6 separate regions of the Homo sapiens genome follow, and regions 2, 3, 4, 5 and 6 are each linked to region 1. The links are contacts of gene promoters, found by promoter capture Hi-C in blood cells and fetal thymus (Javierre and others, 2016). All regions are on one chromosome and are shown on one strand. The core of a region is centred on a gene start or on the middle of the fragment in contact, and the rest is flanking DNA. Distances in the headings are between cores, read along the strand shown.

Evidence for each region. The method cuts DNA at HindIII sites, captures the fragments that hold promoters and counts their contacts. A CHiCAGO score of 5 or more calls a contact.
Region 2: a contact is called between the fragment with the promoter of CISD2 here and the fragment with the promoter of DNAJB14 in region 1, in 1 of 17 cell types (neutrophils). The highest score is 6.2, in neutrophils.
Region 3: a fragment that was not itself captured here is called in contact with the fragment with the promoter of DNAJB14 in region 1 in 3 of 17 cell types (fetal thymus, total B cells and non-activated CD4 T cells); the score reaches 7.9 in fetal thymus.
Region 4: a fragment that was not itself captured here is called in contact with the fragment with the promoter of DNAJB14 in region 1 in 1 of 17 cell types (neutrophils); the score reaches 8.5 in neutrophils.
Region 5: a contact is called between a fragment that was not itself captured here and the fragment with the promoter of DNAJB14 in region 1, in 1 of 17 cell types (total B cells). The highest score is 6.3, in total B cells.
Region 6: a contact is called between a fragment that was not itself captured here and the fragment with the promoter of DNAJB14 in region 1, in 1 of 17 cell types (total B cells). The highest score is 5.2, in total B cells.

Annotation. Positions count from the first base shown.
Region 1 is chr4:99,944,597-99,948,555 of GRCh38, forward strand. It overlaps DNAJB14 (DnaJ heat shock protein family (Hsp40) member B14), which reads right to left and starts at 2,022. Exons shown (of 8, transcript NM_001031723.4): 1 at 1,843-2,022. The coding sequence starts at 1,975. It overlaps H2AZ1 (H2A.Z variant histone 1), which reads right to left. Exons shown (of 5, transcript NM_002106.4): 5 at 3,492-3,927. The coding sequence ends at 3,866. RefSeq lists an enhancer at 1,406-1,455 and a silencer at 1,626-2,285. The HindIII fragment of the contact is 11,087 bases long and covers 1-3,959 here.
Region 2 is chr4:102,866,958-102,870,916 of GRCh38, forward strand. It overlaps CISD2 (CDGSH iron sulfur domain 2), which reads left to right and starts at 2,035. Exons shown (of 3, transcript NM_001008388.5): 1 at 2,035-2,230. The coding sequence starts at 2,128. It also overlaps a transcript of UBE2D3 not described here. RefSeq lists an enhancer at 1,486-1,625 and silencers at 1,856-2,145, 2,176-2,295. The HindIII fragment of the contact is 11,662 bases long and covers 877-3,959 here.
Region 3 is chr4:102,828,581-102,832,539 of GRCh38, forward strand. The region is part of intron 1 of UBE2D3-AS1 (UBE2D3 antisense RNA 1); the gene reads left to right. It also overlaps a transcript of UBE2D3 not described here. Among named protein-coding and RNA genes, the nearest start is that of UBE2D3-AS1, 2.5 kb to the left of the region's middle. RefSeq lists enhancers at 692-751, 792-871. The HindIII fragment of the contact is 4,037 bases long and covers 33-3,959 here.
Region 4 is chr4:102,805,234-102,809,192 of GRCh38, forward strand. All of the region lies in intron 4 of UBE2D3 (ubiquitin conjugating enzyme E2 D3), which reads right to left. Among named protein-coding and RNA genes, the nearest start is that of UBE2D3, 20 kb to the right of the region's middle. The HindIII fragment of the contact is 4,715 bases long and covers 1-3,959 here.
Region 5 is chr4:102,497,958-102,501,916 of GRCh38, forward strand. The region is part of intron 1 of NFKB1-AS1 (NFKB1 antisense RNA 1); the gene reads right to left. NFKB1 (nuclear factor kappa B subunit 1) reads left to right here and starts at 3,402. Exons shown (of 24, transcript NM_003998.4): 1 at 3,402-3,831. RefSeq lists silencers at 3,082-3,341, 3,352-3,921. The HindIII fragment of the contact is 1,389 bases long and covers 1,008-2,396 here.
Region 6 is chr4:102,267,338-102,271,296 of GRCh38, forward strand. SLC39A8 (solute carrier family 39 member 8) reads right to left here. Exons shown (of 9, transcript NM_001135146.2): 7 at 535-742; 8 at 153-337. Among named protein-coding and RNA genes, the nearest start is that of SLC39A8, 76 kb to the right of the region's middle. RefSeq lists an enhancer at 93-1,292. The HindIII fragment of the contact is 1,138 bases long and covers 1,370-2,507 here.

The sequences.
Region 1 (3,959 bases), core at 772-3,271:
GGAGTCTCGCTGTGTCGCCCAGGCTGGAGTGCAGTGTTGCCATCTCGACTCACTGTAACCTCCATCTCCCGAGTTCAAGCGATTCTCCTGCCTCAGCATCCCCTAGTAGCTGGGATTACAGGCATGCACCACCACGCCTGGCTAATTTTTTTGTATTTTTAGTAGAGATGGCGTTTCATCATGTTGGCCAGGCTGGTCTCGAACTCCTCACCTCAAATGATCCGCCCGCCTCGGCCTCCCAAAGTGCTGGGATAACAGGCGTGAGCCACCGCGCCCAGCCTAATCAGTATTTTTTTAAAGAGGAATTCTTCACGTTACAACATAAATGAAACTTGGGAACATTATGCTAAGTGAAGTAAGACAGTCACAAAAAGATACTGCATGAATCTACCTATCTGAGGTAACTAAAGTAGTTAAATTCACAGAAACACAAAGTAGAATGGTAGTTGCCAGGGTCTTAGGAGACGGGGCGGTAGGGAGCTGTCTGATTAGTACACAGTTGTGTTGTAAGATGAAAAAGTTCTGAAGAGTCCTTGCACAACAATGTCAATATACTTCACTAATGGACTGCACACTTAAAAATAGTTAAGACCGTAAATTTGGCAGGTTTTTAAACCACAACTTAAAAAATTATTAACTCTTTTCTTTCATTTTATTTTCCTGTCCTCATGGGTATAGTGTTAGAAGGCAATGTAATGGAAAGGATAGAGAGAAAAGCAAAGAGCACAGGGCTTCAACGACGTAGAGAAAAAAATTTAAGAGACAACAAAACAAGTGGCCCCATATTTTCATTAATAATTTTCTACAATTAATTGAATCTATCGATAACTTTCTTCTTAACCTGGAAATACTAATGGCAAGGCAACAGTGTAGCGGTTAAAGGCCTTTTCGAGTCTGAAAGTTCAGCTACTATTCTGACTTTGCTACTAATTGTTGTGTGACCTTGGGTAAGATACTTTCATTCATTCGCTAATTCATTCATTAATTATCAGAAAGTCTGTTTCCACGTGGGTAAACCTGGTCAAATGAATCCTGCACCTCTACACAGAATTGTTCTGAGGAATAAATGAAATAATCCATGCAAAATGTTGGGCACAACTATTGGCACTTTGTGCTCAATAAATGTTGGCTATTATTACTCCGAAGCCTATCGAGTAGGAAAATAAATAAGCTGACTTCAACTAAAGGAAACCCAGTACCATATTCCTCAGAGATTTGGTTCGTCGATAATCATGGTGTTATCAAATCAGATACTCTTCAGCAATCATTACTGACTCTTGACCATTCTTGCCGAAAGTGTGCTCTTCTCTTTTAAAGGAACTCTCTCCCAGGGAAAAGCAATGTCATCTCAGGTATTCGATGTTTGCTTTGGGAACAGTTTTCTACAGATCTCAGAAACATGGAATCTGAGATTAGCCACTAGAGTACACCATTCCTCTCACTTCGATAGGGGCCTAGGCCTTATGTAGGACTGAGAATGGGGAGGGAGGGGGCCACATAAACAACACAGATACAAATAAAGCCTCACTGTGGTAAGACGGGACCAGACAAGTCTCCTCCAGGGAGAATGAAACCCGGACATTTAGGACAGCGGAACGCGGAGCCGGCGGGCAGGCGGGTGCAGAGGAACCTCGCGCAGCATTCCCCGAGCCCCAGCCCGGAGCCGGGGCTGGGGCCAGGGCGGGGGTGTGTCGGGATGCTCCCCACCGGGCCTGGGGCTGGGGCTGGCTCAGACAGGCCGGGGGCCCCGCAGGCCTCCAGGAGGGGCCGAGGTGGGGGCAGGGGCGGGCTACGCGGTGGTCTGGGGATTGGGCAGGAAGAGAAGGGACGCTGAGGTCTCACCGCGGGCCGAGGGCAGTGGGTAGAGCTTCTCGGCCTTCTGCAGGAAGCGCTGGGCCTTCTCGCGGTTGCCGGCGTTCAGGGCCTCCCGGGCGATCTCGACACATTTCTCAGCCTCATCCCTGTTCCCCTCCATAGCTTGCTCCTTCTTCCGTTTCCTCCGGCAGCGCAGCTAAGAAGGGCGGAAGCCGCCGCCGCGGAGGAGGCGAGGCGGGACCGGCTGGGGGCGTGCGGCGGCAGCGGGGAGGAGCGCAGGGGACCGCGGCAGCGGCTGCGACGGCCCGGGCGGACGGGCGGGCCTCGCAGCTCCGCCTCCTCACGGCGGCCTCCCCGCCCCCCGCGGGCCCCTAGGGCGCGATCCGCATCCGTCCCGGCCCAGGACCAACCTCCTGGGCCGGGGCGTCCGAGCTGACTCGGTGGTCCGCGCACGGCGCCAGCAGGCTCGAAGCGGACCTGCCCGGGAGGCGGACGATAGCAGCCGGGCTGCCCATCGCGGGGAGGGGTTCCGCCCGGGACCCGATTGCCGGCATTGGTAGCGCCGTGCCCTGTGACCTCCAGGCGAGGCCCTCGCAGCTCAGGCCAGGAGGACAGGGTCCGGGAAGGGGACACTCGTTTTCAGTAAAATTGCCAGGACTTGGAGGTTCCGCCTCTGGGCCCCTCAAGCGAGGGAGGATGCGGTCAGGTGAGGACCAAGGTGTCAGTCCAGTCTCAGCACTTCCGGGACACGTTAGAGCGTCGTTTGAACCTAATCTTAGGGCTTGTATGGCAGCCTTATTTCAGCTACATTTTTTCTGACCCGGATGTCTGGCTATCCAAAGTACAAAGCAGTTTAATTTGTAGCTTGCAACGAGTGGTGCAGATCGACCTTAATCCTGTGTAGCCAAAACAAGGCAGGAATCAGCCCCTCAGGGGCTGCCCTAACGAAAGCAAACTTTTGATTTCACCTTTTCCGTCCCATTTGGATAACATTACCACTTGGAAGTACCGTGTCTTGTTAGTCTTCGCGGTGGGGGTGGGGGGAATGTTTGCTATGTGCAAATTTTTTAAAAAAAAACATGACAAACTGTCAAAATGACCTGCTCAACCCAACCACAAGGTAACAATTTTTACATAATGCTGTGAGCCAAGCTGTTAATTCTGCTAACTACCATAACTCGGTACTTTCAAATAAGAAACCCTGCTTCTCTTCGATAAAATGGAGATAGTATATCCCCAATGATGTTACTGAGTACTTAACAACTTCAGACTTCAAAGCAGGGCCTGGCACGTAGCACTATTATCTTTAAAGTTTAAATTCGGAGTTCATTCTGTGGATATACAGGACATTCCTACCTATTCTCTCCCTCCCCAAGTCCACCATGCTAACAGCATACTAGTGCAGTGCTGTCACACAGCAAGCGAAGCCAATGTACAAACTGAAATGGTCACACTTAGCCTAAGAAACTGACAATCCCACTCCAGCTCCTGCCAACTTTTTAAATTAAAACTTTAGTAGCTCATATAACATTAAAAAAATATACTTGGGCTATCTCACTTTGTTGATCTACAGATTTGACAGTTCAGTCACAAAGAAATGTGCTTAGTTATTGCTGCTAGATGAGATACTCAAAACAAGTTCCTATTACAACCAAGCAAATTTAATACACAACTAGTTTGGGATATGACCTTTATTGAACTTATCCACCAGAGTGGAAATAATGTCTGTACAAAACCAAATGTTTGTTACTATAACTTCTGCATCACAATTAAAATCCAAACAGTTTTTTAAAAACAGTCAACTCAATCAAAACCCACTACTTCAGAATCAATAGCTTCTTTGAAGCCACAGTAACACTTAAATATGGTTAAGACTCGAATGCAGAAATTTGGTTGGTTGGAAAGCTAATTAAACTTCCAACTTGCTCAAATAGAATTACAAAAAGGCAAAATTGTGTTTTTCACAGAGATACAGTCCACTGGAATCACCAACACTGGACAGCTGTTAGAGTATTTAGAGTCCTGAGATAACAAGGAATCCAGGCATCCTTTAGACAGTCTTCTGTTGTCCTTTCTTCCCAATCAGAGATTTGTGGATGTGTGGAATGACACCTAGGAGAGTGACAGGAATTAATTCTACTTAA
Region 2 (3,959 bases), core at 785-3,284, 2.9 Mb after region 1:
TCTTCAGGATAAAAAAGCTCCAGGGTTTACCTCCAAACTCTCTCTAAAGGAAATCCCATCAACCTTTTAAACATCACTTTGTATACACCATCTTCTATACTGCCCTAGCTCAAAAACATGAACCTGTATCTAAACGTGTTTGTAGAATTTCCATTGTAAGTTTTACTTTAACAATTTTGAACAATTATAATGATAGAAAATTATTTAATCTAGATTTTGGTCAACTCTATTACTGATATTCTTTTTTAGTGAAGGACAATCACAAACACTAAATTTATACAGTCCAGAGAATGAAAGATTGCTTTAAAAAATTCCTTCCTTTTCTCACTGTAAAATAAAAATACCAAGGGGAAAAATGGAAAGTATTTATTATAACTGGCTGTTACACTGTCATACACAATGAAATACTGGACCATTAGCAGTTCGTTATTATATGTTGTTAAGTGTAGAACTGTAAATAATGAGGCATATTATTAAGATATCACACACATTATCCAATCAGCAAGTGCACAACTTCGGACATTTTGACTTCAGCCAAAATATGAAACAAAGTCATAGCAAGAAAGTTATTTCAAGGGAGTGAAATTTTCTCCTCTTACCCTTCAAATCTTTTAGAGATATTAATAAAAACAACTATCCAGCCTGGGCGATATAATGGGACTCCATCTACATACACACAAAAATTTTTAAAATTCGTTGGGTGTGGCAGCACACGCCTGTAAACCCAGCTACTTGGAAGGCTGAGGCAGAAGGATCCCTTAAGCCGGAGTTAGAGTCTGCGGTGAGCTATGATCTGACCACTGCACTACAGCCTGGGCGATAGAGCGAAACCTTGTAACAACAACAACAACAACAAAATTAAAACCTTCAAGATCAAGCTTGCCCAACAGGATGGCTTTGAATGCCACTCAATGCAAATCTGTAAACTTTCTTAAAACTTTATGAAAAAAAATTTTTTTTTAGCTCATTAGCTACCATTAGTGTTAGTGTATTTATGTGTGGCCCAAGACAATTCTTCTTCCAGTGTGGCCTAGGGAAGCCATAAGGACCCCCTGCGCTAGACTTCAGCAGAAGCCTTGTAACATAAAGAAAACCATACATAAGGCTTTAGATTCTTTTTTTTTTTTTTTTTTGTGACGGAGTCTTGCTCTGTCTCCCAGGCTAGAGTGCAGTGGCACATTCTCGGCTCACTGCAACCTCCGCCTCCCTGGTTCAAGCGATTCTCCTGCCTCAGTCTCCCGAGTAGCTGGGACAGGCACCTGCCACCGCGCCCGGCTAATTTTTCTATTTTTAGTAGAGACGGGGTTTCACCATCTTGACCTGGCTGGCCTCGAACTCCTGACCTCGTGATCCACCCGCCTCGGCCTCCCTAAGTGCTGGGATTACAGACGTGAGCCACCGCGCCCGGCCAGCTTTGGATTCTTTTACCACTTTCCCGAAGGAAAAGGAACTGAAAATATCTAAGGAAGGACTACTACGAATCTTCTCTGAGTGGCAAAAACCAGAGGTTTTTGGAGCTAGGGCTGCAGTTAAGTTGCCAAGGGGCAGAGATGTAAACAGTTCCTGGTTTAGTTAAAATATTTTAATTTTTATTTTTTTAAGCCTGGCCTTTGGGTGAAGGAGTAAAATTAGGCACTGGGGTCTGGGTAGGGGGAGGATACTCATGGGCGAGTATGCAACCCTAGGGCCACAGCACCCAAACTGTAGGGGAAGAGGCGGGGCGAGAGGGGACGAAGTAGAGACAGCAAGAGACTCACTTTTGAAAGGCACTTTCGGTTAGAAAGCATTCTCACATGCTTATCTCATCGCACACAGTATCCTTTCTGCTGGTCTCCAGCATCTACAGACGTTAAAGGCCCAAGAGGAGGGCCACCTTCACACGAGATTCCGAGGAGGGCCTCGCTACCCGCCAGTTCCCGCGCCTCGGCAGTCCGCCGCGAGCGTACGTCACTCGCCCGCCGCCAATCGGCGCCCGGCAGGTCACCTCTCCTCCCAGGGCCCGCCGCCCCGCCCGCCGCCCAGGCCGAGGCCGCCAGTGCCCGCCGGCCGCTTCCGCTCCCGGCGCAGGCGCGGCAGCTTGGCCAGAGCGGAGGGGGCTCGGGAGAGGAGTGGACGCCGCTGGCCAGGATGGTGCTGGAGAGCGTGGCCCGTATCGTGAAGGTGCAGCTCCCTGCATATCTGAAGCGGCTCCCAGTCCCTGAAAGCATTACCGGGTTCGCTAGGCTCACAGGTAATCCTCCCCCATCAGCCAGTCCCCATCCTTGCACGTTCGCCAAGCGGGGGAAGGAGGCGTAAAAATCCTAGGGCCAAGGGGCGGGACGGAGCTCGGCGCCTGGCACGTGATCCCCGCGCGCAGAGGAAGGTGGGCGCGCGCCGACGCAGCTGCCTGGGGAACGCCTGTGAGGCAGTCTCCGGGTGCTTGATGCCCCAGGGTCTTTTGTCCTCGGAGTTGTCTCCGGTGTCATTCCGTGGCAAGATACCAGGTTTTTGCAGAGAAGGTGCTGAGTTGGGAACAGGCCAGTCTCTTTCATCTCCTGTCCTGCTCATCGCTCTCTGTAGCGTACTTGTTTATTTTAAAGCGGGCTAAGTCGTCGTTATCTAAGGCCTCATGTAACAGGCAGCCCCAGCTACCGGCTGGGTTGTACCCTCAGCATGTGGGTGGGAGTGTGTGGGAGAGAAATATAGACTTACACGTAACACGTATATGACCGTTTTATTTAGTAACGAAATTAGGAGATAACCTCCATTCCCTCAGGTTAGAATTGACCTATCATAGGTGGCATTTGAGGTCATCTCCGTTTCTACGGTCCCGGGGCCCGCTGCGGTAACTTAAGTTGGAAGAAAGATACCTTACCCAAGAAAGTATTCGAAGGCCGGTATGAGGAGTGAAATCTTAGAAAATGAAATTTAGTGAATATATGTAACGTTCTATACTTAAGGACCCTCACTTAACCCACACAACTCATGAGGATTTCACATCTAAAGGATGAAAATCTCCAGAATGCAGTCAACACTTGGGAGATTGTGTTGAGTTATGAGCATTTCATTGTAAGGGGGATATTTCTAAACGGAACTCAGACCGAGTAGGATGGTGAAGGAATCAGCAAGTATTGAACTCCTATGTCCTAGGTTATCAGGGAGTGCAAACATGAATTAAGATAATTCTGAGGTAAATAGGGTTGCTTCGCCGGGAACGTTCTAAAGATCTGTAGTACCTGACCTAAAATACAGCAATCGCACAGCTGTCTGGTAGAAGAAAAATAAGATTTGTGTAGACTAAAATATAGAACTGATAACAAATTAACCAAATTAGTGAAGGTTATTGGGAGGTGAATTTCAGTCTAAGGAAGATTTTTTTTTAAATTAAAGAATGCTTTCCCCAAACAAATGTGGTGCTTCAGTGATAGCCCCTCTCAAAGATGAAAAAAACAAACAAAAAGACTCTGGTGGTGGGTGGTCGATAGATTTAGAAGGGATAAACTAGATGACAAATTCTCTTCCAAATCTAGAGATTCATTGAATTATGGTCAGACAGACGCTCTGTTGAGTGGATTGTGAGATTTTAATATTTTTTAAATATTAAGAGTTTTAGTAGAAAACATGCAATTGAATAGAAAGCATGGTAACAATAATAAACATTAAAAAGGAACATTAAACATCAGAAGCAATGCAAAAGTAAAATAAAATGAAAAACGTTTCACATCAAGTGTTTATAAACATCAGATCTTTTGATCCTACCAGTTTACTCTGACAGAATTGCAGCAATTCCATAAAATTTTGGCTTTCCCCACTTCTTTTACTTAAGTACTTTACATATTTTAATATAATCCTCATTTTTTCCCTAACAACTAAATACTTATTTTAGTTTTAACATCACAATGGGCCTAACCATTCATTCCCTTACAACTGGAAATTAGAAATGTTTCTATTTTTTAAAATTCATTATGTAATAGTTCATT
Region 3 (3,959 bases), core at 801-3,300, 2.9 Mb after region 1:
CTGCCGTCCGCCAAGGTGTAGATGTGGGAACAAGCTTAAATTCTCAAACTTTAGCTTCTGTTGCTGTGTTTCAGTTCTTGAGCCAGAAAGTGTTGAGACTAATTAGTTAATTAGGTAGAGTTTAGAGTCAGAAAAACAATACAATACTTCCTGAAATATCCAAGTTGGGAGGTGGGATTTACCTCAGTAGGATTGGCCTGTTTTAGTCAAGGGTTTAAAGTATGGAGACGGCAGTTATGCTCTCTAGTGTATCCTTCAGGCAAAAGAAAGACCTTAATTTTTATGAGGAATTTAAAAGTGGGTAAGCACTGACCAGCTTAAGGTTTTTTAACATTCCTTAATGACCCCAGTTACCGAAGTGGAGATCTTCAATTACTTGGAAAAATAAACTTGTTTTAAAAATACACTTAATTTGAAAACTGTTGCAGAAAGTTTTACCTAATAAAAACTTAACACGTCAACAATGATGAATATAAGTAGTCTAATGTATACTGTTCAAGTGACCATGTAGTGTCACTAGTGAAGCAGTGCTTCTCAAACTAGTGTCCATAGGAACCACCTGGGGTTTTGTTGAAAATGCGACTTTGATTTGGTAGGGCAGTGGTGGAGCCTGAGAGCCTACATTTCTAACTAGCTCCCAGGTGATACAGATTTTTCTCGTCTGAACCACCCCGTGAGTAGCAAAGCACTGAAGTGCTTACCTCATGGCCTAACTGCTCATGAGGCTCACCTCAGTAACACCTCTGGCCCCTCCCTCCTCCCTGAATAATCTGTGTTCTCTCTCATAGCTAGCCAGATATACTAAAAGCACAGGACTAGGCATGAAGATGGAGGGAGGAACCCAGATTAGTTATTGCTTCCCATTTGCTTGATATTGGCCTGGTTAGTTATCTTCTAACCCCGTTTCTTCACCGCTAAAGTAAGTAATAATGACTGTCCTTTCTCACAGGGTGATTGTGTGGTTAAAGTGTCATAATATATGTGAAAGGACACTGGAGACTCTACAGTGCTGTATAAATGTCAGTTATTAAAGTAACCAGTCAGACATTAACTGGCCATAGTGTGAAACAAATGTATAGTAGTAATAGTGGCCACGCCTGTAATCCCAGCACTTTGGGAGGCTGAGACGGGTGGATCATATGAGATCAGGAGTTCGAGACCAGCCTGGCCAAAACAGTGAAACCCCATCTCTACTAAAAATACAAAAAATTAGCTGGGCGTAGTGGCGGGCGCCTGTAATCCCAGCTGCTTGGGAGGCTGAGGCCGGAGAATCGCTTGAGCCTGGAAGGCGGAGGTTGCGGTGGGCCAAGATCACTGCGACAGAGTGAGACCCTGTCTCAAAAAAAAACAAGAACAAAAAACAAAACTAATATATATGGAGTTCTAGATTATCCATGCTTATAAAGGCAAGTGATTGTGTAATCACAAACTCATTATTGTTAGGCAGTGAAGTAAATTCATTGGTTGATTGGGCTTTCTGTTTACAAGTTTGTATTTGCATAAGTGGACTTACATTTCTGCTTATATTTTGCCATGGTTAAAATCAAAAGAAACATAGCCTAGAAGCATTTTGATGCCTTAGGATAAAGCAGGCTAAGATTAAGTTAAATTTTAAAACATTATTCATGTACCTGTTGTTACAGAGAGCCCACTTTACAGTTGCAAATAAAGTTAAAACATTTTCATTCATTTAACTTACTTGAATTACAATGGTAGAGATGTCCTCATTTGAAACAAGAAAGGAAAATAATCATGTTTTTTATATTGCAGTCGGAAATAATGCTAACAAGAAAAAAATTATGGCTGTAAATACTGAAAGAAAAATTTACATTTAGAAATTAATAAAGGTACAAAAATGTTGAAAATTTAATTAACTAAAAATAATCCCTTCCTTAATAAATACTATTTTGAAGTCCTAAAAACTTTGTAAATATAGTAGATCAGATTATCTTGCATGAATTGACATAAAACATGAGAAAATAGAAAGGATCAAGAAAATTAAAGCTGGGCTGGTGGCTTACGCCTGTAATCCCAGCACTTTGTGAGGCCAAGGTGGAACGATCACTTGAGCCCAGGAGTTTGAGACCAGCCTGGATAACATAGGGTGACCCAGTCTCTACAAAAATAATAAAACAATTAGCTGAGCATGGTGGTACACGCCTATGGTCCCAGCTACTTGGGAGGCTGAGGTGGGAGGATTGCCTCAGCCTGGGAGGTTGAGGCTGCAGTGAGCTGTGATTGTGCCACTATACTCAAGCCTGTGATGGAGCAAGACCCTGTCTCAGAGAAAATTACTAGTAAATGGGCAATTAATCTACCAATCTGAATAATGGTGGTGTGCCAGGGTCTTATTACATGAATTTTTCAGTGAGGCCACGTTATTATAATAACTTGAGAGTAAGGGGTTAATTAGAATGTATTGATGAATAAACATAATTAACAGATTTTATATATATGTACTTAATATTGTATCTATGTTTTCATGTATCTTTAATTTTGTTACAGAATATTATAACTTGCCAAAGACACTGGCTCTAGTACAGTGTATACCATTTTATTAGTTTAATTAAATTGTAAATGCTACGGTCCAGATTTTATATTCAGAATGCTCATTTACATATTCTGCCTGGACCAAGTAATTTGGAGCCCAGGTCAACCAAATGTTATTTTACATTGTTTGCACAAAAATCAAATTGATTTCTATACTTAACAATTCAGAATCTCATTAAGTCAAATTAATATGGTTTAAGAAAGTGTACTTTATTTCATGCTAAGATGTCATTTTGGCCTTAATAAGGCTTTTGGCATGTAATGAAGCATGCACAAATCTTTGAGATAAAAATAGAGCATTTTTCCACACAAAAACATATATATACACAAATGTTCAGAGTAGGGCTATTCTACTTTTTAGTAGAAACAACTCAAATGTCCATCAGCTGATGAATGGATAAAGAAGATGTGATATATGTGTATAATGGAATATTATTATTATTATAAGGAACAAAGTACTAATACATGTTACAAAATGTATCTTGAAGCCTTAAAACATTCTGTCAAGTGAAAGAGCCAGACACAAAAGGCCACATACTGTTTGATTCTGTTTATGTGAAATGACCACAATAGTGCATTCTGTCTTCCAAAAAGCTGGTTTACTTACAAACACAGGTTAAAAAAATATATATTTGTAATACTGCTTTTGGTGTAGGGTGAGGCACGATAAAGAGACTTTCATTCGGTTTGTCAATCAGTGATACTTAGGTCTGAATAGGCAAGTGGGAGTCTTTCAGGTTTAGGACAAAGAATGTTAATGTAGTAGAGATCTGTTGATAGAGTCACTCCTAGTTTTCTATTTATTTAAAAAACATCGAATTACTATTAGGTGCTAGACACTGAAGATACATAAAAGACACAGATGTCATCTATAAGAAAGTCTCTTGAGGAGACCAGTAAGCATCAGACAACATCATAGAGTGGGTTCAGTGACATAAATGTGTGCACAGAGCACTATTAATGTACTGAACTCAGCTGGCGGTGGTCAGGGAAAGTTTCTCTGAGGAAGAGAGTTGTATTAAAACAAATGAAAAAAAGGGAGCAAGGCAAAGTTGGAAAAAAATTGTGAGGGAGGCTCCTAGGAAGAGGAAACAGCATGCAAAGTCTCAGAGATGACTTGATAAGTTTTTAAAACTAGAAAAACTTTGGCTGCAGTATTGCGAGGTTGAGGTGGCGGGGGGAGCGGCAAGGAGAGAATGAGAAGACAGAAAAGATGAGGAGACAAGATAGATTTGAAAGACATGACTGGAGATCTTGAGGGCCTTTTATTTTGAAGGGGATGGGATAGAATGGAGAAATTGAATTTTTAACAAAAATGGCCTGATCAGATTTGATGGCAAAAAGGTAACTGTGATAGCAATGTTGAAGCATGTGCCCAAAGTATGTATTGGGATGGAGACTAGAGGCAA
Region 4 (3,959 bases), core at 904-3,403, 2.9 Mb after region 1:
AGATAATGAAACTAGGCAATATAAAAAATTGAGACCCTATGATATTTAAATTCTATTATGAATCAGCAGCAAACTACACCAAAAAGAAACAAAATCCCCAAAGAATAAGGAACACTGTGATCAGCAAATCGACTCAAATCGTACAAGTCCAGAATTTATGTTAGATTTTTTCAGAAACCTTCTACTTCTTTTGCTCTCATCAGTGCAAAGTTGCTCCCTCACAGTGCCTCAGCTCTTCTGTGGCAATAAAACGTTGGTATTCTTTTTTTTTTTTTTTTAAAGTGGTGCTGTCGCCCAGGCTGGAGTGCAGTGGTGTGATCTCGGCTCACTGCAACCTCCACCTCCCAGGTTCAAGTAAATTCTCGGGCCTCAGCCTCCAAAGAAGCTGGAATTACAGGCATGTGCCACTACACCCAGCTAAAAATGCTGGTATTCTTATAGGTTGATTTTCTACTCTTAACTGCTGACCCATAAAAATTTGAGTTGCAAAATATATCTCTGGTCAGTTATTCATTCCAGGGCATATATTCAAATGCCTACTGATATTTCTACTTGGATATCTCTACTTGGATATCTCATGTCATGCGTCCAAAACTGAAACTTGTCTCAATCCCTTTTTTCCTGTTTATTAATAGCAAGCCATAACTGAAAGCCATAAACCAGGATCTCATCATCAACTTCTTCCTCTCTTATCTCAGAATCAAGATAGTTATCAAGTAAGATCTTTAAAATTTCTTGAATTAGCTTCTCCTTTATGCCCACTGTCACTACCATCTTAGTTCATGATGTTATCTTCAGCCTAGATTATGGCAATAGCTTACTAATGATTATCCCTCCATCCTAATGATAAAGTGGTCTTTTAAAAATGTTACTCCCCTGCTTGAAATCTATGATAGTTTTTAAGATAATTCCAACTCCTAAGTACATACGGTGCTTTATGATCTGGGTGCCCATCTAGTTTCATCTTCTGTCTCTTCTATAGAACATGTTCTCTACTGCACATAAAATATTATATGGATAACATATCTTTTTCTCTTCCCTACTTGGAATATTCTTCCTTATAATATAGCCCTTCCTTTGTCTTATCTGCTCCCTACCCTTCTTTTATACCTCTTTAAGCACATAGTTACCATTATCCACCCATATATCTAACATTTACTTATATTTCTCTTTTATTAGACTACAAAGCTCCTCAACGAGTAAGGTTAAAGGTGGAAAAAGTCTTCAGGTATCAGTAACCTACGTGGGAAATGACATAATAATACACTTGAAAAAAAAGTTGAAAAAATAATCCTTATGGACCAAATAAAATAGTACCTATGGACCAATTATTTTAATTCAGATAGTTTTTCTGGTTGACTATGCTCAGGCTGCCAAAGGTTACATTTTTCAGATACTTTCACATTTTTCACAGGTACTCTCTTCTACATCTCTGTCATAGATTAGGTGGGAGTTAGTGTTGTTCTCTAAATCCACTTTTTCTGGATTTCCAATAAAAAAAAATTTAAGCAAGTAAATATCAGAGGCAATAGGTAAGGAAGTCAATTTCTTCTAATTACATCAATTCTTGTTGGAAACTAACCTTAATACAGTACCCCACGCCCCCCTCCCCAAAAAAACCCACGCACACAAAAAACTAGCAATGCTGTCATTTCTTTCGAAGGTTTAGTTTTTAGTCAATAGTTGTGCTTCCGAAGTAGCTTACCTTCAGAAAGAATAAGCCAGTACATATGATTATTAAAGCCAAGCAATTTTGCTGCATAACTAATGATCTAAAGGATTTCCCAACAACTCACTAAAATCAAAGTTACTCTATTGAAACTCAAAATTAGATGGTATATTCCCTACAGTCAGGAATCTTCAGTTCTGTGGCACTGGCACCACTTTAAGGGACCTAAGTAGTAGTCCAAAGCAAAAGTGACGTTGTTAACTGTCCAGTTCTCCCACTAAATCTGTAATTTATGGGTTGCTTTAGGTCACAACTGCTTGCTACATAGAGCAACCATACTCACAAAATAAGCTACTATTTATCTTATACAGTGATGCTTTGTCACAAAGAAGTATTGAGAAGCCAAAAGAACAAAATGAGTTGTTTCATTGGTGCACTCCACAGTAAGCATATAGTTAACTATTTAAAGCTGGCATCTAAATTATGTGCTTACTTATGTACAAGACAATACCCGTACTTTGGGTGGATTTTTATAATCTTTGACTCCTTCTTGAAATTTACCCAACCAACAGTGAGAACTAACCTTTTTAACTGAAAACATATTTCAGTGAGTACTGCTACCAAAGCAAAACCCAGCAGTTGTGGTTAATCAGGTTAATATTTAAATGGTTCTGAAAATCACATGCTTCTGTTTGTAAAAGCAGAAAACTGCTAGTCATTATATTAAAAGGTTGCTGAAAAAGTTCAGCAAGGAATAGCCATCACCTGAAATATATATTTAAAAAATGAAAAAAGGTAAATGTTTTCTCAAAATAACAGCAAATTAAGTAAACTGCTAAAAAATCTGTCAGAATAAGCAACACCATTCTCTAAAAAAATTACTACCATACACTCATCATTCATGTTTCCTTTTGATTGTCTATAGGTATGTTCCTTGCCTTTTGGGAAAAACTAGTGTGTTGTTCAAAATAACAAAGTCTAAACTGTCAAGCAGAAAAACCAACTAGTTTTAAAGAGTTAGTTTATTCTGCACACCATCCAATTAGAAGTTTTAATTACCAACGCTTCTGTGCTTTCTTAGTATTGACAATTTTTATAATGAAACTATCAACTACCCTCTGAATCAAAGATGAGCTTTATTTTAAGGCATTTTATAGCATTCTTTGAAAACTGGTAATCCAAAATGGGAAAATTCTAGAGGTTGCAAAAGCAACTGCTTTACAAAACACTAGGCAGATAATATGGAATTGACCTAGTAGGCACTGTGGTAAACACATATCCCATCTAAAAAAGGGAGGCAGCTGTCATTCCATCCCAAGCCATTACTGCTTATGGAATGTGGGCCTACTCAGAAGGCTTTTATTTGAAGACTGCCAACTTTCAAAAATATCGTGTGGGCCAAACTGGGTAACTCAACATTTAACTGCGTGTATTAAAATTAAACAATATTGCTACCAAATTAGATAAAAGTAAGTACTTTTAATAACTACAAAGCCAGGATTGTGCATTTCGTTATTACAGGACTATTTTTACTGTTTTAAATGTTACTTTGTTTTAAAATGATCCAGGACGTTTCAAAGTATTAAACTTAATATTTGCACCCCTGCCATGTCTTACTTTGATTTAGTTTTTCTACCTTTAGGGCACTAACATTTTAATTACTCTAAATTAATCCTCCCTGCTTCAATTTCCCATTAATTTATCCTACTCAGCACTTCATTCACCAATCACTTATTTTCCATCTTGTCACACTTCAGCACTTGTTTTAGGTATCTGTCTCCTCTAATACAGTGTAAGTTCCCTATAAGATCGACAGGGATGTTTATTATGTTCAATTTGTATCCTTATTACCTGGCACACAGTATGTACTCACATTTGAGACAGAAAAATGACTAAAGTTAGAATCAGAATTACTAAATAAATACTTGTTGATTCGACTCATCTACTAACTCTAAGAGCATTTTTTCCTTTAGAATTCTAAATATTACTTACTGACCATTATCTCACCTAGTACATTATTGCTCTTTATGTTGCTTATAAAACCACCAAAAAGGGAAGACAGTTTTCAGGAAGATACACATGTAACTTAGAAAACAAATCCTTAAGCGCCTTAGCAAGTTAAAAAAAAAAAAAAAGTTAAATATTTGTGTAAGATACAGTCTTACCCCAGGATGTTTTAGTGCGCTCTAATTCTCTGAAATTCTTAGATGGTATCCATAATTCTGAATATTCAATTATCCAGCATATAGTTGCTTATCTACCCAGGATAGAAAGGAATTTTGCTATATTC
Region 5 (3,959 bases), core at 452-2,951, 2.6 Mb after region 1:
TATTCAACTTTTCATCTGTAAATATGGGGATTATAATGGTGATCCACTTTATATGACTGACAACCAAATAAGTGAATACGTGTATAGCAGGTATTAACCATATGCTTAGCCGACCTATTTCAACCTCCTAACCAACCAGAAGAACTGTAGTTCCCTGCTCTCTTGCATCTAAGTGGGGCCATGGAATGTGGGCAGAAGTGTTGTGTCACCTTTACTCAGAGGCAATTAAAAAGAAGACATACTTTTCCTATGTTCTCATTGCCAATGAACACACTACACAGATCTCAACCTCAGAATTCTCTCCACACTGGTATTTCCAAAATAGCTTCATGAGAAGGGAAATTTGTGTAGTTTCAATGATTTAGTGATGCTATGGTTTGGGTATTTGTCTCCTCTAAACCTCATGTTGAAATGTGACCCCAATTTTGGAGGTGGGGCCTAATGGGAGATGTTTCGGTCATGGAGGTGGATCCCTCACAAATAGATTGATGCTATTCCCTGCAAGGAGGAGAGGATGAGTGAGTTCTCACTGCATTAGTTCCTATGAGAGCTGGTTGCTAAAAAGTTTGGCATCTCTCCCCTCTCTCTCGCCATACGATCTCTCTGCACACACCACCCGCCTTTGCCTTCCATTGAGTGGAAGCAGCCTGAGGCCCTCACCAGACGCATATGCTGGTGCCATGCTTCTTGTACAGTCTGAAGACTGTGAGCCTAATAAACCTCTTTTCATTATAAGCTACCTAGTCTTGTGTATTCTGCCATAGCAACACAAATGAACTAAGACAAGTGACAAACACAAAATAACTTGTCTTTTAGACAATATTGATGTCTGAAATTCCACATTGAGGCATTTTTTTCCTCTTCGTAGCCTGATAATGGCAAATACCTTCTGACACCTTAGGATGGATGAATTTGTAAGAGATATTCCTGGAAGCAGGTTTGTACAGTGTAGAGAAAATGTTGGGTAACAAAGCAGGAATGGAGGAGGGTTAATCAGCAAGCCAAAAAGCTTTTATAGTTTTGCCTGCTGTGCTGCATGGAATTACATCCCCCCAAAACATATGTTCAAGTCCTAACCACAGGTACCTGTGAACATGAGTTTATTTGGAACTAGGATCTTTGCAAATGTTATCAAGTTAAGATGAGGTAATACTGGATTGGGGTGGGCTCTAAATCCAATGACTGGTGTCTTCATAAAAGAAAGGTGAGGGAGAGTTGAATATAGCGACACAAAGGAAACACGGGGAAGGAGACCATGTGACAATGTAGGCACAGAATGGAGTGTTGCAGCCAAGCCAAGAATGGCAAGGATTGCTGGAGCTACCAGAAGCTAGGAGGAGGCAAAGGATTCTTCCCTAGAGCCTTCAGAGGGATCATGGCCTTAATGGCACCTTGAGTTCAGAATTTTAGGCTCCAGGACTGTGACAGAATAAATTCCCGTTGTAAGCTGTTCAGTCGGTGGTAAATTTTTACAGCAGCCCCAGGAAAATATGCCTGCTCAACACCCTACCCTGAATTTTAAGTTCATTTTATGGAATCATTTTGAGTTTGGAGTTTGATTTAATCCTTTTCAGTAATTAACGCTCTTCATTTTTTACTCCCAAATATGTCACACTGGCTCTACTCTTATAACAATTGTATTTATCTATCTTTTGGTAATGGGGCTGCCACCCCTTGCAGAATGAAAAGTAGAGTGTGTATGCTCACACCTCCCTCCCTCCCTCCCTCTCTCCCTCCCTCTCTCTTTCTTTCTTTCTCAGAGTATCGCTCTGTCTCGCCCAGGCTGGAGTGCAGTGGCGCAATCTTGGCTCACTGCAACCTCTGCCTCCAGGGTTCAAGCGATTCTCCTGCCTCAGCCTCTGGAGTAGCTGGGATTACAGGCGCCCGCCACCACGCCCGGCTAATTTTTTTGTATTGTTAGTAGAGATGGGGTTTCACCATATTGGTCAGGCTGGTCTCAAACTCCTGACCTCAGGGGATCCACCCGCCTTGGCCTCCCAAAGTGCTGGGATTACAGGTGTGAGCCACCGCACCCGGCTCACAGAATTTCTTAAAAAGTCATTGTGTTCAGTCTTTATGGATCCTCTAAATTCCAGCTGCTCAGCCTCCCGGAGCTAAATGAGATCACTTAAAGGTCGACTGTTGGGGCCTCCAAGGTCGCCTCGGAGACTCACCTCATAGGCAATCAAATGGATCGCTGGGTTTTTGTGTGTGTGGGTTTTTTTTGTTTATTTTTTTTTTCCAGAAAAACACTCCACCAAGAAGGTTTTTATAACCTACTGGAGGAGGAGGATGGAGAGTGGGCACGAAAGGACTAGGATGAACATGCCATAAGCAATCTAAATGCCACTGCAATATTGCCTGGTGAGGACCTGATTACTGATGTTTTAAAGCTAAGCTTTCAGTTGTCACTCCACCCAGTAGTGAAACAATGAGCTCTAAAATATATATTTCGGCTCAAGCTTTCTTATGTGGGGAGGTAATCCACCCGAAGGTATCCCCAGCCTGTACCTAATACAGTGCCCAGCACTAAAGCAGCTCAGATGCCAGTGAATGGTGGCCACTGGGAGGCCTGTCAGTGGGTGCCAGTAGCGGTCTCTTCAGAGAAAAAGAAAACTCCCCTCTGCCAGATCAGTATTTTATGAGCTGTGAACCAAAACCATTGCTACCACCATCACTATAATTCTATCCACAGTAATTATCATAAAGGCCTAACAATGCCTTGTAGATGAACATTCTGAGTAACTGCTCTATAACCAGGAGATTTAAGACCGCACCAAAAACCAGTAGAGGGTTATACTTTACTGGGCACAAGTCGTTTATGATAACGAAATTGTAGTTTAATCTGTGAAGAGATGTGAATGTAACTGAGACACGCTTAAATGGAATATACAGATGAGCTTTATTTTTATATCTGGCATGCTTGGATCCATGCCGACCCTCCAGCTGCTCGGGCCTGCCCTTAGGGGCTATGGACCGCATGACTCTATCAGCGGCACTGCCACCGCCGCCGCCTCCGTGCTGCCTGCGTTCCCCGACCATTGATTGGGCCCGGCAGGCGCTTCCTGGGGGCTTCCCTACCGGCTCCAGCCCTTGGGATTCGGGAGCGCCCTGCTAGGAAGCCAGAGCCCCGCAGGGGCCGCGGCGTCCAGGCCGCCTAACGCGCGCCCCTCGCCCGGCGCCCCGAAGCGGCCCCGAGGGGCGGGAGCCGAGGCGAGCGGCAAGGCCGGGCCGGGGGCGCACAGCGCCCCTAGAAGTGCGGGCTTCCCCCACCCCCGGCAGCGACCCTACCTCCCGCCCCCGCTGCGTGCGCGCGTGTGTCCGTCTGTCTGTATGCTCTCTCGACGTCAGTGGGAATTTCCAGCCAGGAAGTGAGAGAGTGAGCGAGACAGAAAGAGAGAGAAGTGCACCAGCGAGCCGGGGCAGGAAGAGGAGGTTTCGCCACCGGAGCGGCCCGGCGACGCGCTGACAGCTTCCCCTGCCCTTCCCGTCGGTCGGGCCGCCAGCCGCCGCAGCCCTCGGCCTGCACGCAGCCACCGGCCCCGCTCCCGGAGCCCAGCGCCGCCGAGGCCGCAGCCGCCCGGCCAGTAAGGCGGCGCCGCCGCCCGGCCACCGCGCGCCCTGCGCTTCCCTCCGCCCGCGCTGCGGCCATGGCGCGGCGCTGACTGGCCTGGCCCGGCCCCGCCGCGCTCCCGCTCGCCCCGACCCGCACTCGGGCCCGCCCGGGCTCCGGCCTGCCGCCGCCTCTTCCTTCTCCAGCCGGCAGGCCCGCGCCGCTTAGGAGGGAGAGCCCACCCGCGCCAGGAGGCCGAACGCGGACTCGCCACCCGGGTAAGCCAAACTCGGGCGAGTGGGGGCCCGGCAGGGGACGCGTGGCCCAAGTCCTGCCGCCCAGCCCTCCGCACCCCCTCCAGCCCCACTCGGACTTCCTCATTCCTGCGCTAACCGCTGGGCTAGAC
Region 6 (3,959 bases), core at 689-3,188, 2.3 Mb after region 1:
AGAATGATCTGTTGAAATGGGATTGTTCTGAATTACAACAGAAAGGCCTTCCACACTGCGGAAAGCAGAAGGCCACCCTTAGTTAACTTATAATCCAGATACTCATTTCCAAATTTTAAATTAAAAGAAAATACAAATTTTAAGCTTCTTACCATATCTGCCAGAGAAATATAGAGGAACATGCCTCCAGCAAGTGCAAATATAATATTTGGAGCGAAATTGTTGCCCACCAAAATGCCAAAAGCTAGCCCAACATAGCAGGAACATGCAGAAAGGAAGTTGAATAGCAAGGCTTGTCGAGTGCTCATCCCTGCATTGAGTAGGATCACAAAGTCTCCTAGAAGAAGAAGAAGAAAATATCAAGTGAATAGTTTTTTTTTTATTTCTGGATGATATCAAAGATAATCATCAATGTCCAACAAGGTCTTCATTTTAGTGCATCAGAAGGATTTTAAGAGCATGTCACCTGAAAAGTCTCATTCCACTGAAATCAAGAAGTAAGCAGACTTTTACAATATGAACAGAGCTCCTTACCTAACTCGTGGGGAAACTCCTCACATAGGATTGCTATGGAAGTACTGAGTCCCTGAAGGAGAGACAAGGTGCAGGAAGCCCCAATCGCCAGGCCATCGATGAAATTGTGGAGGGCATCGCAGAGCGTTATCATCCAGGCAATCGTCCCTATTTCTGACAGTTTGGGCCCCTTCAAACAGGTACATGAACTTGGCTCTTTTTTTCCATCCTAGCAGAAAATCAATTAAAATGATAACCAACATTTCTTGAAAGTCTCAGAAATACAGACAAGTTGGAGATGGGTTGTGCTTGAGAAAAACAAATTGTTCCAACAGAAAGTCTTTTAGAGTAACTAGGAAACCCTAATAATATATAACAGAGCAAAGAAAACTTATGGTTGAGAGAAAGGAAATTCATCAACTGACACACCTCGAATAAGCCACTAACAGATATTTTCCTTTACTTTCCCTTTAAAACAATTCTTTTGACTTGTATAAACTTCTTCCTACTGCCTTTCTAAAATGTAGCAGATATTAACCTAAGAAATTTATTTATACACAAGATTTAAAATGAAGGAAGTTATTCAAAGACTAAACTTAAAGTCTTTTTTATGTTACAATTTAAATGTGAAATCCACAACTAGAGCATGATGAATGACATCAGCAACATTTGTTCTAACCCCTCCTATGCCACCATGTGACAGGGAGCAAGTTATCACAGAGTTCCTTCAACTGTGAAATGAAGACATTGTACTAAATGATTCATTTATTTATCAACAACTTATTGAGTTTCCATTCTGTTCCAGGTACCCTGTGGAGGGTTTAGGCTGTAACAATATGGTCTCTACCAGCTCCAAAGCTTAATTATTTTCTTAACAAATTGCATGAAGTGTAAATGGAACAGGCTAGCCTTTACACTAACACTTCCTTTCATGTAGAAACAATTAAAAAATAGAAAATCCTGTGATGGACTCTTTGTAGGAATTTAGATTTCCAGAAAATTTACAAAATTGTACAAAATCAAATGACAAATGCCAACTAAAACACTTTCCAGAAGTTGTAGAAAAAGATAAAATGCAAATTCATTTTTAAGTACAAAAGCACTTTGCAATTAACTGGAGAACATTTTATTCCTAATTCTCCTCCTCTCACCTCTACCTAAGCAGCTAATCATTACATTTATTGAACTTCTGAAATTTGTAAAACACTCTGTTGAATGCTATAGGAAATACACAGAAATGGAAAACACAGCTTCTGTCTTCAAGAAGTGTATTTACATTGGAGAAACAAGTCATAATATATATGGATACATTAAAAAAAAAACATGCAATATATATCCAACAGAGAGGGGCTTACTTCAGAGCAACCATCTAAGAGGTTTTACAGTTACTCCAATATCACTTCACCACTCCAAACACTTTGGGGACCAACACTTTCAGAATCAGCCTTAGATCCTGCAATACATCTCTTTACTATTTCGTTAGTGGCAAATCTGCACCTTTGGATTTTTGTTTGTTTGTAGGCACAGATAAAAGCATTTGGAGCAAATATTTTTTTAATTAATATGAAATGAATGGGAAACTGTTAGTAATAGGATTCATCATCATTGTCATCACCAATGTGGTCGTAGTAGAAATAGTAACAGCAAAGGCACATAGCATTTATAATGTGCTAGGCACTGTTCTAAGCACTTCAAATACCGAATTCATTTGGAACAATTCTATGAGGAAAGTACAACTGTTACCATCATTTTATAGTTGAGGAAATTAAAGCACAAAAAGGTTGGTAAACTTACCCAGAGATACAAAAAAAGAGTGAATGGGCATTTTTGGCAACAGTGCTTTACTACTACACACATATCGGGGATGGGAATTCTTCTCTGTAATAGGATCTGAAGGTAATTCGCAAGGAGACTTCCCCACCTCTCAGAAAACTCTTCTGAACGCTTGATGCAACATTGAGTAAGTATCAAATCTTTTTTATTTTAAGAAACAAAGCTTATCCGCATAAAAAATTCTATCTTTTCTTAAAATGTGGGCTTTTTATTTTATAGCTGTATCTTAAACGCACAACACAATAAACAATCATAATTTAGCACAGGTGGATCGGGTAGTTTGCATAAAAAATGCCCCAGAGCGGGAAGCAATTACAGCTGAAGGAGAAACAAAGGTGGTCATAGGGAAAGCCACAGAGGAAGTGACCTGGGCTTTGTAAAACTTAATGCCGTGATATACTTAATGAGATTATTTTGAATTAAAGCAGTTGTTTTCATCTTCCAATCTAATTTGTCTAATTACATGTTTAAAATTTCCTTATTGTGATGACTTCAGAAGAAGACTACAAAACCAAGTCTTGACTACCTGATATCACTACAGAGTCTGTATACAAACACCCTTAATTTTACAGAAGAAATTAAATTAATATATCAGGAATGATTCTCATACCTCTAAGTACAGATATTATTGACTCTATTTATTATGCCTCATGCTTTGGTCCCAAATGATACTGTTGAGCAGGTAAGAGTTATACATTTTTAATAGTTTTGGAACAAACCAAAGTCAGCAAACCTTCACAGAAACTTCTTTTTTAATTCACCTAGAATTAAATCACTGAGCAGAGAGAACACTAAATTCAAGTTCCTGTAGTTAAATTAGTGAATATGCCTATCTCTCTCTTTCCTTTTTAAATTTTTGTTTTCTATTGTTATTGTTGTTCACTTGCTTGCTTTCTTGTCTGAGTTTTACTCTAAATATGAGGCTATTTCTATCCTCAGCCATGATGAGGCAATTCAGCCTAGTGAAAAGACACTAAGTCTGGAATCTAAAACTGAGTTCAAGCTTGGCTGTGAGAAGAATTACCGTGTAATCTTCAGCAAGACTTGTAACACCTTTCACTTAGTTATTAATGGGGATGGAAGTCAAAGCAATGTGTAGTGTTATCAGAATGGGGGAGAAAGAATATCATGCACCAAAGTTAAAAAAATAGAGGGAGACTATGTTGAATCCCAACATAAATTGGAGGGCAAAAAACAAAATTTTTTTCAAAAAAAGTACTTAGAAATTAAAATGGAGAAAACAAATGGGCTTATTGCAGAACAGTTTAAGGAAGGAGGAGAAAGTTGTAGAGGATGAGGAGGCCTGGGGGAATAGGGAGCACAAGGAAAGGGAGAAGTAGCATGAGGAGGAGGAGGAGGAAGACAAGTATAAGGAGGATGAGAAGGAGGATGAGGAAGAGGATGAAGAGAAGGATGATTAGGAGGAGGACAAGGTGGAGCATGTGGAGAAGGAGGAAAAGGAAAACAGGGAGAACAAGGAGAAGGAAACGAGCAAGCATGAGTAAGAGGAGCAGGAAGAGGACTAAAAGGAGGAGAAAGATAAGGACAGACAAGAAGGACACAAAGGAGGAGGTGAAGAATATATGGAAGAGTCTCTTTTAATAAGTACAGAA